Regions from separate parts of the Homo sapiens genome. Here regions 1 and 3 are each linked to region 2. Evidence: promoter capture Hi-C in human tissues and cell types (Jung and others, 2019). All regions are on one chromosome and are shown on one strand. The core of a region is centred on a gene start or on the middle of the fragment in contact, and the rest is flanking DNA. Distances in the headings are between cores, read along the strand shown. Region 1 overlaps RXRA (retinoid X receptor alpha). Region 2 holds the start of NACC2 (NACC family member 2). Region 3 holds the start of TUBB4B (tubulin beta 4B class IVb).

Evidence for each region. Contacts are between HindIII fragments. The study calls those that stand out against the background at their distance.
Region 1: a contact is called between a fragment that was not itself captured here and the fragment with the promoter of NACC2 in region 2, in 1 of the 25 tissues and cell types used here (lymphoblastoid cells).
Region 3: a contact is called between the fragment with the promoter of TUBB4B here and the fragment with the promoter of NACC2 in region 2, in 1 of the 25 tissues and cell types used here (spleen).

The regions. Positions count from the first base shown.
Region 1 is chr9:134,436,410-134,441,106 of GRCh38, reverse strand. It overlaps RXRA (retinoid X receptor alpha), which reads right to left. Exons shown (of 10, transcript NM_002957.6): 10 at 522-4,640. The coding sequence ends at 4,493. Among named protein-coding and RNA genes, the nearest start is that of MIR4669, 59 kb to the right of the region's middle. RefSeq lists an enhancer at 3,577-4,145. The HindIII fragment of the contact is 5,892 bases long and covers 1-4,697 here.
Region 2 is chr9:136,092,731-136,097,002 of GRCh38, reverse strand. It overlaps NACC2 (NACC family member 2), which reads left to right and starts at 1,714. Exons shown (of 6, transcript NM_144653.5): 1 at 1,714-1,814. RefSeq lists silencers at 1,252-1,351, 1,672-1,801 and an enhancer at 3,007-3,698. The HindIII fragment of the contact is 19,137 bases long and covers 1-4,272 here.
Region 3 is chr9:137,239,973-137,244,681 of GRCh38, reverse strand. TUBB4B (tubulin beta 4B class IVb) reads right to left here and starts at 3,395. Exons shown (of 4, transcript NM_006088.6): 1 at 3,265-3,395; 2 at 2,853-2,961; 3 at 2,661-2,771; 4 at 975-2,186. The coding sequence starts at 3,321. The coding sequence ends at 1,126. CIMIP2A (ciliary microtubule inner protein 2A) reads left to right here. Exons shown (of 7, transcript NM_001001710.3): 5 at 1-40; 6 at 394-511; 7 at 894-1,083. The coding sequence ends at 982. RefSeq lists silencers at 2,991-3,220, 3,551-4,370. The HindIII fragment of the contact is 17,682 bases long and covers 1-4,709 here.

The DNA.
Region 1 (4,697 bases), core at 1,463-3,962, 1.7 Mb after region 2:
GTGCCTGGCTGGACACAGGTGCATGAGAGGGCTCCGGGCACGAAGACCAAACCAGGCCGGGAGCAGCCCAGCCCCAGACAGCATGGAGACAGAGGGCGTTTATCACAGGAGACAATGCAGATGGGGCATCATTAACTTGTTGTTATTGGGGCAGCTGGGTGACATCGTGTGTTCCTTGGCCCTCTGGGTGCACCTCCTGCCCATCTGGGCCAGCGTGGCTGCAGAGGCGTGGATGCTTAGGCAGCCTGGGGAGGGACAGGTGGGAACACTCGTGCTCCGCAGGCGCCCACAGGCCCAGTGCCCACGGCTGCTGAGAGGTGCCCTCACGGAGGCCCCAGCCCCCTGCCCCTTGGAGGAGCAGCAGAGCCCAGTGGACAGGGAGAGAACTCTCAAGAGTATGGCCCACAGAGGATGCCAGCCTCGCCGCACAGGACCGGCAGGTAGGGTGGACAGGAGGGTGGGCTGGTGGGGGCTGATCGCGGGCCCTCCCGCTCCAAACAAAAAAGTCCCCACACGGAACAAACGAACTGAATGGCGATGTATTTTAAACGCTCATATTTTGTTTCTCCTCTCACACTTCTCCCTTTGCGTGTTCCTTTTCCACAATTCTAATGCTACTGTCCATCAAACCCTGGCACCTGAGGCCACGATGTTTCAGAGACAATCGTACGGAGAAGCCACTTCACAGTCAGTCACAGGAAGGCCAGAGCCGGCAACAGGACACAACAGAGCAAGGCTTTAAAAATTACTCGAAAGGGAAGAAAACCCTTGAAAGCCTCAGGCCCACCCTCCTGCCCCGAGGGAAGACACCCCCATTGCGGCGGTTTCCTCCCAAGCCTCGCCGCCGTCACAGGAGCCCTCTCCTCTGCCATCGTCTGTCCTGGCGTTTCTCGGACGAAGCTTTCACCTCAATCTCTAGAAGCAGAAACGAAACAGTCCCAGCCCTCCCCCCGCCATATCCAAGTATACATGAGGGATAAAATTACATTTGTACAAAAATAGATTTTTTTTTTTTACCTTTCCAGATGCTTTAGACATTTTCTCTTATCTTTACTCTCTTTATGGATCTGTCATCCTCTCTAAAGTATTAGCTATGCGTCCCAGCTAAGGCATTGCTAAGGATTGGGAACGGCTAAAGCTGTCTGCTCCAAAGCATCTTAAAATAGATGCATCTCCTGCCTTGAGATATTCATTCGAACCCGGATTTCACCAAAGGAGGGTCCTTATGTACTTGCTTACACGAAGCAAATTTATAGGAAAACAGGGGAAACGTCTTGATTAAAAATAAACACAAAACACTGGTAACCGCTCCGCCTTTCCTGGGTGGCGCTGGTGTGCGGCTCTCTCCACACGCGTCTCTCTGTACAGCACATACATGTTTACACCACACACCTGCGTGGACGAGCACCAGATCACGCACCCCAGCTCCACGACAGGGACACCAGCCGACTACCCACAGGCTGCACATTCCGGCAGGGCCCTCCTGGGTGCCCCACGGGGAGGGGCTCGGGGTCATCTCCAGCACTGCCACCAGGCCGCCAGCCCAGAATTCTTGGGAAACACCGTGCTCGGAAAACCGAAGGTCAGGGCTGTCCTTCCCAGAGGCCGTGTGCTTCCAGGGTGCGGAGGGCCGGCGGCTGACACAGGCCCCAGGGTGGAAGGTCCTGGCAGGCCAGCTTCCAAGCATGCCCGACGCAGCCTAGGGGAGCCCGGCTCTGTGGCATCTTCACTCCTGAGCCTCAGGAGCCCCATCTGAACGGCAAAGCCGGGAGGTGACCAGCTGAGGAGCGTGCCTGAAGGTGCCGGGGTGCCCTGGGTCCCCAGGAAGCAGCCACTGGGAAGTGGGGGCCCTGCGGGGAAGCCGCTTCATCCAGCCGGGCCAAGGCGGGGACAGGCACAGGTGGCTAATGAGCTGATGTTAGTGCTATCTTTAGAAAATTAAAGATTGTCCCACCAAAATAATAATAATTACAAAAAATCACCTTAATTGAACTGGATTGGTAATACTACTACAGGTCTGGTTAAATAGAAATTCTACCTCTCTACTCAGTGATGAGCCGCACTCCCCACACATCACCTTTTCAAACCAACAGCACTGTACAACTACAAGGCCGATGAGAAAGGGACGGGAAGGCTGCGGGAAGTGCCCGGGACACGTAGAGCGGTGGGTAAGGCTGCTGTGGCCAGGGAGGCCAGGTTCTGCTTTCAGGGGTTGGCGGCCGGGGGGCTTCAGTGCTTTACAGCCAGCCAGCCAGCCAGCCAGCGCCGGAAACGACAAAGTTCCCAAGAAGCAGCCGACCCCCCGCAACGGAGGCCCCGTCCCTGGGCTTTTTCCTCTGGAGCCGCGGGCATTCCCAAGGGTCCGGGCACGGATGGGTGGGCGCTGGCTGCAGAAGGCACCAGGTGTTGGCGTTGGGTCTTTTGCACTCCCACCGCTGGGGCCCCAAGAGTACCTGCACCCTCCTGCCATTTCCACCACACCCGCCAGGGGCAGCTGGGGCTTCCTGGCAGTGCCTGGGAGGGGCCCAGCTGGCCGGGGACCTGGTACAGGTATGAGGCTCAACACTCTGCCTCAGGACGGTGGATCGGGCAGGGGGCCACCTCTAGGGATCCACAACGCTGAAAGGCAGGGGTGGAGGGCGGCGGGGAGGAGAGGCTTCTGGAATCTCTGACAGCCTGTCTCGGGCACAGACTCAGCTGCAGGCTCCACTCGGGTGCCTAAGCTCAGCTCTGGCTGGGAGCTCCAGGAAGGCAAAGAATGGACACTTTCTTCCCCACCAAGGCTGGAAAGCTGCCTCTCCAAGCCACTGCCTCCCGGTCCAACCTGTAGGCAGCTCCCCTCACCACTGAGGAAGCCCCTGCTCCAGGTGGGGAAAGACTATGGAGAAGGCGTCCACCCCCCCGCATCATTCCTAGACTGCGGCTGGGAAGACAAGACCCCCTCCGGTATCCCCCCCATCCACCCTCTGTTCAGGCACCTGCCACTGACAAAGGCTGGGTCCACGGGACTGAGGCGTGAACGGGAAAAGTACTCAGGCCAAAGGGAGGGCCTTCCAGTGCAAAAGAGGCGAGTTCAACCTGAGAGGGCCCCGCACCACCGGAGCCCGGGGGCAGAGCCTGCGGGAGGAGCGCCAGGCCGCACTGGGCTGAGCCAGGGAGGCCCCAAGCCCCGCCCCCACCCCACCTTCAACCAGAGCAGGCGTTCAGTGAGGCTCCCAAGTAAGGCTCTGGGTGAACAACGCTGTCCGTGGACAATACCAGGCTGGGTGGTCCCACCAGGGCCTGCGTGTGGCCCAGGCCCGAGGGCGCTGCGACTCCGGGTTCTCAGATTCCAAGAGTCTTTTAGACACAACTGGCAGCCAGAGAGAAGGCCTGAGCAGGGGTCCCACCAATGCCCCGGCAGAGCCACTCCAGGCCGCGGAGCATCTGCCCCACCCACGAGGCTCCCAGTTCCTGAGCCCCTCTCTCTCCAGGCCACCTGCCCCCTCTGAGGGAAACCAACAGGCCACCCTCCTCCCCTCCCATCCCCGCGGGCCTCACAGATGGCTGCAGGTCCGCAGAGCCCTGTGCCTCCAGCAAGGCCAGTGAGGTGGTGATGCCCCACCCTGCCCGAGCCAGGGCCAGCCCTGCAGGAAACAAGGACAAGCCTCAGCCCACCCCGCAGAGCAAGGAGAAGACTCAGGCTGGGGAGGGGCCGGGGCACTCTGGTCTGAACGGGGAGTCGGGAGTCTGAAACCAGAACACCAAGGCAGAGAGAAAACAGGGGGGTGAGTGACCCGCCCCTGCAGCCTGGAGGTGGCCCCGAAACCTTGCACAGAGGGCAGCTCATGTTCTCATTGGCTCGAGGGCAAAACTGTGAGTTATCTTTGGAAAAAGGGGCTACCTTCCCCCTCACTCAGAGCACAGGGCAGCTTGCTTGCCCCACGAGTCCCCTCTCATCCCCGAGGCGGCTGAGGTCTTTGCTGATGACACACCAGCTTGCGCCCCCAGCTGTCCCCTCCTGATTAGGGGGAAGCTGTCACGGGCTGGCTGGGCACCAGTATTCAGAGCAGATGAAGATGTCACTCCAGACAGGAGGGCCACACAGGAATTCTGAAAACCAGCATCGATAAACAGCAACGGAAACAAAAGCCCCGTTCCCAACTCCTGCAGCTCCAGGGCTGGGGCCCGAAGACCCTGTAGTCGCCCAAGCCCCGTGGGGTGTGGCAGGGTGTCCTGAGAGCCCGGTGGGGAGGCGCCTGGCTGGGCTCACGCTAGTTCTTGCCACGAAGGCTGCTGCCTCAGGAAAGCCACTGCCCTGGGCCACAGACAAGTAGTAACAGAAATAAGGAGGGTGACAACACATCTCTTAGGCAGAGCAGTGACAGGCTGTGCCCCAAAGTCCAAACAGGCCAGGCAGAGAAGGGCAGGGACAGGGCTCAGGCTGAGAAGAACAGCTGGCGTCCAGGCAGGGTGGCCAGAACGGGTGGGCACAAAGGATGGGCCCGCAGGCCTAAGTCATTTGGTGCGGCGCCTCCAGCATCTCCATAAGGAAGGTGTCAATGGGTGTGTCCCCGATGAGCTTGAAGAAGAAGAGATGTTCCAGGCATTTGAGCCCGATGGAGCGCAGAGCCGGCAGGCGGAGCAAGAGCTTAGCGAACCTGCAGGGAACAGGTCTGGTGAGGGCCGGGCAAGGGGCATGGGCAGTTCTGCCCTGG
Region 2 (4,272 bases), core at 465-2,964:
TGCTTTCCAAATATCCTTCACTAAGGAAGAATGTCTTTAATATTTAGAAAATAAAAGTGATTAAAACAATCATTCCCATCCCTGGAGGGCCACGGGTCCTAGTGGGTAGCCCCTTGAGGCCTGCCCCAGGGCTGGAAGCAGCTCCAGGCATCTGTCTCTGGGATTCACGATTCTCAGGGGCTTGGGGTAGCTATGCTCACTGAGAGATCCTGCAGAGATTGTAAAGTCAGGCCTAGGAAGCACCAGAACCCTGAGGCTGCTGAGCTCATGCCCTGGGTGTAGGAGGCACTCAGAACCCTCCTACCCCACCTCCTTCCCACAGTAGACTGCGGGGCGGGTTTGGAAGTGGCAGTGGTGGGGGGAGGGGGGTTGGGGTGTGGGACCTGGGACTGCATTTAGGTCTAGATGGGACTCTGTGGGGAGAGCCCAGAGTCCCTGCGGGGTTCCATACTCACCCCCATACAAGGCAAGCCAGGGAGTGAAGTGTGTGTGTGTGTGTGTGTGTGTGTTCTGGACGCAGAGCTGAATAGAACCTAAAGTTGGGGTCAAGGGCCAGTCTGTGGCCAAGATCAAGGGCCTAGCTTGAGGTTGGGGTGACAAGAACCTGGCCAAGCTTCTGATGATTTGTCCAGGGAATGACCTTGGCTGACTGTGCCAGAAGGGCTGTAGCCCCAGGTTTCTGATCCCCAGAGCCCCAAAGGCGTTCTCTGGGATGCTGGTGGCCATCTCCTTCTCAACCCTTCTCCCAGCGCCCTCGCTCGGGACCACTGAGGCGGTATCACTCCATTCTCCTGCAAGGACCCTTGAGCGTGCTGTGGGAGTGAGGCTGGCTTAGCCTCTGAGGACCACTGCAGCCTGTCCTGACCTCAGGCCCCAGGTTAGGGGGCAGCTGAGGAGGGGTCTCTGGGTCTTTCCGGGTGTGTGGCCGTTTTATTTCCGTGCCCTTGTTTTAAAACTGCACCTCTGTCCTCAGGAGCGTGGCCTTGGGCAGATGGAGAGCTGCGTGGCCGGTGCCGGAATGACTGTCAACGCCCCAGTGCGCCCGGATCACACCAGGCCTGAAGGCAGCGCCAGGCCCAGTCCAGGCAGCTTGCAGTTCCCGGGCCGCAGGGACGGGCGCCGGAGCCCCGCAGACGTTCGCCCAAGGGCGCTCCCGTATCCTCGTCTTTCACGGCCCGCCTGAGCGTCCAGGGCGGCTGCGGATGCGCGCACTTCCCCCGCCCGGATCCCGGAGGCTGCACCGTGCGGACGCGACTGCCGCGGGCAGGGCGCGCGCCGGGGGCGGGGTAGGGGGGCCCGGGGGCTCTCCCGGGCTTAGCGAGTCCGGCCGAGGCCGGGGCCCGGGGAGGGCGGAGGGCGGCGCTCCAGGTCCTTTCCCGACCCGGCCGCCGAGCTCCGTCCTCTGCGCCGCGGCGTCCGGCTCCCGCCGGGTGTCCCGCGCAGGGTCGACCGCCGGCAGCTCCGGAAGGAGGACGCGCGAGGGGCGAGGAGCTGCCGCCTCCCCTCCCCAGCGCTCGGGGTTCCCCACGCCCCGCCGGCCCCCACTGGGGACCCTCCCGGCCCCCGGACCCCAGCCCCGACCCCGGGAGCCCACCTGGCTGCCAGTGCGCGCGCGCGCGCGGCCGGCGCGCTGTCCCTTTAACGGCCCGCGGGCACCTCCCCCGCCGCCGCCCCGCCCCCGCCGCGGTGCGGCCGCCGGTGCTGGGCGAGGTCGGAGAAAGTCCATGGGAGCCGGAGCGCCGGGACGCCAAGCACTTCCTGCCGCGGGCGGCGCGCCGCAGCTGCCCAGGCCGGACCGGGCCGGGCGCCCGCAGGTACCGCCAACTTGGCGCGCGCGGCCGCCCCCGGGTTACGCCGCCGGGCGGGGTCGTCCCACGGGCCGGGCCCGCACTTCCCGCAAACTCCGCGGCCGCCCAACTTGGCGCGAGCCCCCTGCCGCAGTGCCGGCCGCGCGGGGCGGGTGCGGCCGAGTTCCGCGCCGGCCCGGGCGTGCGCGCGGGAACCGGCCTCGGGAGCCCGCGGAGGGGGGCCGGGCGGGGCCGGGGGGTCCCGGCGGAGGCGCCCGCGACCCCGGGCCGGGACGCCGCGCCGCGCGTTCGGGGAGACCCCGGCTCCGGGCGTCCCGGGGCGCTCCCCGCCGCCTGCTGGGTTTCCCTGGATTTCTGGGGACCCGCGCGGCCTCCCCAGGGACCCGACTGGCCGATCCAGCCCTCCGGGTGGGGAAGCCGGGGCAGGACTGGCCCGGGGCCAGGGCGGAGGTACCCACCCCTCCCGGCGCATCTGCGCAGCTGCCTGGCCCAGCCGGGCCCGCGCCTCGCCCTCCCGGTCCAGGTGGGCCCGTTCGTGGGTCGTCACCGCCTCCCGCGCCTCCCCCACTCGGGCCCCAGCCTGGGGAGAAACTGGGGTCCGGCCGCAGGGGGAGGGGGCTCTGCCTCTTGCCAGCTTCTGTGCCTCTGCGGAGCTGAGGTCGGGGGGCCCCAGCTCCTTCTCTAAGAAACTCAGCGGAGCCCGGGGCCCGCCGCGCACCCCGCACGGCCAGGGCGGACCGAGGCCTTCCGACGGAGTTTCCTGCTTCTCTTGCTGGGATCGTGTGGGGTCGGAGGTCAGAGGTCACCTCCCAGCCCCTCTGCCAGGCTCTGGGGGAAGTTTGGTCTTGGACTCTCGTCGTGGAGCCGCTTAAACCTGTGGGTCTGAAGGCCGCGAGGCCGGGTCCCTGGAGTTGGCCTCCCAGGCCGTTCCACTCCCTCCCCCAACCCCCGCGCGGGGCCTCCGGATTGGAGGTGTTTCACCCACGTGCTGGTGGGCCCGTCTCCCTGGGCCGCTGGGTGCCCTGAGCTGTGTTCTCTGCTGCGCGTTCCTTCCTGTGTGTGGCGGGGGTGCTGACCCGGGGGTGCCCAAGGCAGCCCGGACTCCCATCCCGTGGAGCTGCCTCCGGGAGCGCGTGCACCTTGGTGTTCCCGCCCGCCAGCGCGGCCGCACTCTCCTGCCAGAGTCCGTGTCCCTCCAGGTCGCCCCTTCTTCTCACCCACCCCTCTTTTCGTCTGGCAGGCTCCTGACCTCCTTCCCTCCTGTTCTCCAGTGGGACACTCAGCTCAGCATTCTGCAGGGTGTTTTAGCCTGTAGCACCCCCCAGCAGGGGCGCCTAGAGTTAGGTCAGGGTTCAGGCAGCCCCCGCCCCACCCGCCACCTCTCAGCCACCCACCCCTTCTTCTCCCGGCCACCGTTGGAGCACCCCTCTGGTCCTCTGTGGGGCCTTTCCCAGCCCCTCCCTTAAAGAGGCCTCTTGGCGTTTTCCCCTGGGGTCACTGTTGGGTGGTAGCTGGGCCAGAGTCCAAGGGGAGGAAATAAAAGGAGCTGCCACCCAAGGTGGTGGCCCCCTGTCCTTTCGGCAAAGCCACTTGGAATGGGCACAGAGAGTGGAACAAGATATCACTTGTCACTTCTTAGTGGCCAGGGATCCTTTCGCAGTGGTCACACCCAGGGCTCGATGGTGCTGGCCCTGGCCTGGCGGGAAGGCGGGGAGGAGCCACCCGGGAGATCTCCTGCTGGGAGCAGTGGGAGCTGGGCTGCTACAGGCTGCGAGAACAGGCTCTGTTCTTTACCACCGGCTGCTGGAAGGGTTCGCAGGGCTGCTCTGCCCTGGGCAGGGGGCTAGTGGTGACTTTTAAAAAATTCTTCAATCCTCCCTTTGTTTTCCAATTAAAGCATGAGGCTGCATTATTCATGAAACAACAGTGACGATCTTGGTGCTGAGCGGTTCTTCCAGGCCTGCACTCCTCTTGGCCTCTGCCTCCGGAGTCCTGCTTTCCTGGTTTGTGGGCAGTGTGGTCTCCCAGGCCCGAGGGATGGAATGGGGAACCAAGGTGTTGTCCTTTTCGGGATGTTGAGTTCCCAAGGTTCCACCTTGTGCCCCTTCCTCTGAGGTCTGTGCCTCTGACCTGTGTCCCTGGAACGCACAGGGCACCGAGTGCCCAGTGGCCCCAGCCACCGTCAGTGGGGCAGAGCCCATGTTCCTTCCTCAGCCAGCCCTGTTCTAGCCACCTCCACACACTGTCCCCAGGCTGCCTCTCTGCATCTCACAGCCCCTTGGGGTCACTCCATCCCCTTTGCAGGGTCACGCAGTGGGTTCCGAGATCCAGTTGGACTGTGGCCGGTGGGATGAGGGTCGGAGTCCACAGGGGGGCAGCAGGTGGCACCCCTTACCCCAGGATACACCAGCATGTTTCTCCGGAGAACCAAGGCCTTCTACAGACCCCAGTGTAACGAACACAT
Region 3 (4,709 bases), core at 2,146-4,645, 1.1 Mb before region 2:
CGGCGTCATGCAAGCCATGGACGAATTCGACAAGAGCCAGGTAGGAAAGCGCCATCCAGGGCCTGCTCCCAGCTCACACACACACTTCCTCTCCTGCCTGGCAGCTTCCCTGGAGGGTGCCTTGAAGGCCAGGTTCCCTGAGAAGCCTGAGGAGGGGGCTCTGCCTGGCTCTCTCCTGTCCCCGGAGGTGCCGCCCCAACCCCTCTCTCCTGAGTCTTGCTTGGATCCCTGCACTCAAGTTTTGGAGTCGGGGGTAGGGGGATGCAGAAGGCTGGGAGCATTAGCAGCTTTCCCACGGAGTGCCGGCCCTCCGGCCAGGCCCCCACTGGGACAACTTGACTATCTGTTTGCCTGCCGGGGAGGGAGCTTGTTAGCACCTTCCTGTCTCCCCAGTTCCTGTTTAGAAACCCCCACTGTGACCTGGGCGAGAAGCTGCCTGGAACACACTGGCCCAGCAACCACATCTACAGCAGCCAAGGCCTGATCCCCTTCTACATGGGGTTCATCCCCGGTGAGTAGAGTGGGCAGGGTCACATGGACACACCCCGGCCAATGTGGGGAGGGACGGCTCTACCTGCTCACCCTTCATTGCTGGTTCAGGACCACCTGTCTGACCATTACCAGGGTCCCACCTTGGTTGGGGTAGGATTGTCTGCCATCCTCCCTACCCCTTTTGGAAGGGGGGTCACTGGACCCACCTAAGTCCCAGACACAGGCCGAGCCCCAAGGTTGGGTACCTGGAACAGGACAGGCCTGCCTTCAACAAGCAAGTTCCCCACCAAGCAGATACCCAGGGCCCAGGGCAGCCCCACACTTCTCTGAAGCCTGGGTGTCCAGCCCATGCTGGTCCTGGGCACATAAGCCCAGCTCAGCTGCAGCCTGGCTCCCCGCAGCCATGCAGGACAACTACGCCCTGACATTCGGCAACAGCACCCGGAGGGCCTACTGGAAGGAATGGGCAAAGCGAAACCACACACTATGAAAATGCTTTAATGGTGGTGTCTGTACAGCATGGATGTGGACAGGGAAAACAGCAAGTGCACACAGTGGGACAGGCCACAGGACAGGCTGGGAGTGAATAAAGAGTTCACACTGCTTCCCTGCTTTCCCCAGTGACTGAAGGCTCTAGGCCACCTCCTCCTCAGCCTCCTCCTCGAACTCGCCCTCCTCCTCGGCTGTGGCATCCTGGTACTGCTGGTACTCGGACACCAGGTCATTCATGTTGCTCTCGGCCTCGGTGAACTCCATCTCGTCCATGCCCTCGCCCGTGTACCAGTGCAGGAAGGCCTTGCGCCGGAACATGGCCGTGAACTGCTCGGAGATGCGCTTGAACAGCTCCTGGATGGCCGTGCTGTTGCCAATGAAGGTGGCGGACATTTTTAGCCCCCGAGGTGGGATGTCACAGACAGCCGTTTTCACATTGTTGGGGATCCACTCAACAAAATAGCTGCTGTTTTTGTTTTGGACATTAAGCATTTGCTCATCCACCTCCTTCATGGACATGCGGCCCCTGAACACGGCGGCAACCGTCAGGTAGCGGCCATGGCGGGGGTCGCAGGCAGCCATCATGTTCTTGGCATCAAACATCTGCTGGGTGAGCTCGGGCACGGTCAGCGCCCGGTACTGCTGGCTGCCCCGGCTGGTCAGTGGGGCAAAGCCGGGCATGAAGAAGTGCAGCCGGGGAAACGGGACCATGTTCACAGCCAGCTTCCGCAGGTCAGCATTGAGCTGGCCTGGGAAGCGCAGGCAGGTGGTGACCCCACTCATGGTAGCAGACACCAGGTGGTTCAGGTCACCATAGGTGGGCGTGGTCAGCTTTAGGGTTCTGAAGCAAATGTCGTAGAGAGCTTCGTTATCAATGCAGTAGGTCTCGTCTGTGTTTTCTACGAGCTGGTGGACTGAGAGGGTGGCGTTGTAGGGCTCCACCACTGTGTCTGACACTTTGGGCGAAGGCACCACACTAAACGTGTTCATGATCCTGTCTGGGTACTCCTCCCGGATCTTGCTGATGAGGAGGGTACCCATCCCAGACCCAGTCCCCCCACCCAGGGAGTGGGTCAGCTGGAAACCCTGCAGGCAGTCACAGCTCTCAGCCTCCTTTCTCACAACATCCAGCACCGAGTCCACCAGCTCCGCGCCTTCTGTGTAGTGCCCCTTGGCCCAGTTGTTCCCAGCACCACTCTGACCTGTGAGAGAACACAGCTAATCATTTGTCAGCCAGGTAGACAGCACTACTGGTCACCGCCATGCGAAAAAAGCCGAGTGACATGGTGTGAGCTGACCACAGAATTCACCCTGGAGGTAGAGCAAACGGACCCTTCAAAGCCAAAAGACGGCAGCCTGCCCTGCTACGAATTAAGTCAGGGGCCAAACCTGACAGCTTAACAAACCCCTCCCCGGGGGGGCCACTGCCAATTCCCAAGGACAGAGGAACAGCCACTGCCCCAGCTCAGCTCCCTGCAGGGAGATTACGTGTGTGGCGGCTCCTCGCCTCGGCAGACAGCTGGACCTTGCTCCCAAAGCCGATTTAGTAGAGGGGATTGAGTGGCTCAGAGAAGAGGAGGGCGTCCAGGGGCCCCGGCTGCGCAGTTCCCACGGCGGTGCCCTTGGAGCAGCCCCTTGACCTTTGAGCCGCCGCCCAGTCCCCAGCCACGGCTCACCGAAAACGAAGTTGTCCGGCCGGAAGATCTGCCCGAAGGGCCCCGAGCGCACGGAGTCCATGGTGCCGGGCTCCAGATCCACGAGCACGGCGCGGGGCACGTACTTGCCGCCTGCGGGGACGGGAGGGCGTCAGCCAAGGCAGGGGCCGCGGGGTCCCCGGAGGGCGGTCGGGGAAGGGGCCGGGGCCTCACCGGTGGCCTCATTGTAGTACACGTTGATGCGTTCCAGCTGCAGGTCGCTGTCCCCGTGGTAGGTGCCCGTGGGGTCGATGCCGTGCTCATCGCTGATCACCTCCCAAAACTACAAGGGACGCGGGCGGGCCCGGGCGGGCCGGGGCTGAGTCACCGCGGCCGGTGCGCAGGGAGGCAGCCCCGCCCCGGACGGGCGCGGCAGCCCGGCCCTCCCCGCCCCTCCCCCGCCCCGCGCGCCCTGGCCGCCGGGTTCCTGGGGGCTTCGGTCGCCCGGCTCGGCCAATTCCCCGCGGAGGGGGCCCGGCGGCCGCAATGCGGGGGCGCCGCCCGGCCGCTGCTGCCGCCATCTTCCCCGGCCGCCCGCCCACACCGCCCGGCAGGCCCGCCTGGCCCCAGCGCCCCGGCAACTTACCTTGGCGCCGATTTGGTTGCCGCACTGCCCGGCCTGCAAGTGCACGATTTCCCTCATGATGGCGGCGGCGGCGGCGGGGAAGCAGGAGGAAGTAGACAAACAGCAGCAGAAGAGCGGGCGCGCAGAGTGCTACAACCGACGCTCCGCCAACGCTTATATACCCTCCCTGCCCGCCTCCGCTAGTCTCGGAATGGGCTGCCAGAACGAGGCTGGCAAGCTCCCTCGTTTGATTGGCCTTGCCCCCGTCAATCAAGCTGCCTAAGGTCCGCCTTTTTAAGCCAGTTTGGTCTTTATTGGTCAGCCGCAGCCTCCTATCTCCCTATCACAATCCCCCTCCTGGCGCCGCAGTGCTCCGTCCATTGGGTGTTTCAAATGATTGATTTGCCGTCTCATTGGCTGGCTGCCGGGAGCACGCCGCCAGGCTGGCGCTATTGGCTGCGCTGCTTCAGCGTCCTGGTAACCGCCGCAGTGCCGCGGCCGGCGCGCGGACGGGGTGGGGCGCAGGCGCGAGTGCGGGCTTCCGGTCGGGCGGCGGGCAGCTGCGCTGGGGGCGCCGAGGGAGGGCGGGCCCGACGGGCCTCGGGCAAGCGCAGTCTTGGCTCTGAGCCCGGGGCCTTTCGGGAGCCGGGAAGGGCAGGCTCGGTGGCGGCCCCACGTCCAGAGTTGCGCCCTCTCTGGCCTTGCGCCGGGACACGGCATCTGCGCGCTGGGCGGGTTCTGGAGCGGGGTCCGCACGGAGCGAGCCCGGGGCCTCCAGGCCGAGGAGGCTGCGATGCCTTAAAGGCAGGAAGATACACGGGCTCGGGGGCTGCGGCGGTGGAGGGGAGCTCTCCACAGAGCCGCAGAGGCCACGGAGTTTCCTGCTCCCGGGTGCCGCACGCCCACTGCCCTCGCGGTCGCGTGAGGGGAGCACGTGGGGGACGCCGCGCCCCGAGGGCCGGGGCGGAGGGCAGGGGAGGGGAGCGGAGGGGCGAGGCCTCCCCCGCAGCTGCGCGCCCTGCCCTGTTGTGGAGACGGCGCTGGCTCTGCGCCGGTCGCCTTGGTGCCTCGGCCCCGTGAGTGCGCGAGCTCCGTGGAGACCAGGACAGCGCCCAGACCTCCCTCGGCGGGTGGGCCCCGACCTCCGGGCTCCAGGGCCGGTATTCCAACCACAGGTCAGCGCGCTGGGGCTGAAACATACTTCTGTTAATGCTTTTCCTAATTTATGACTTGATTTTTACTTGGGTGGGAAAAGAAACTTAAAATGAATTACATGTGGTTGCGCCTGTTTAAAAACAAACGGGCTGTATTTTTGCAGCATTTTTATTTTACTTAATTTATTATTCTGAGACAGAGTCTCGCTCTGTCTCCCGGGCTGGAGTGCAGTGGCGCGATCTTGGCTCCCCGCCCCCCCCCAGGTTCAAGCGATTCTTCTGCCTCAGCCTCCCCAGTAGGTGGGACTGCAG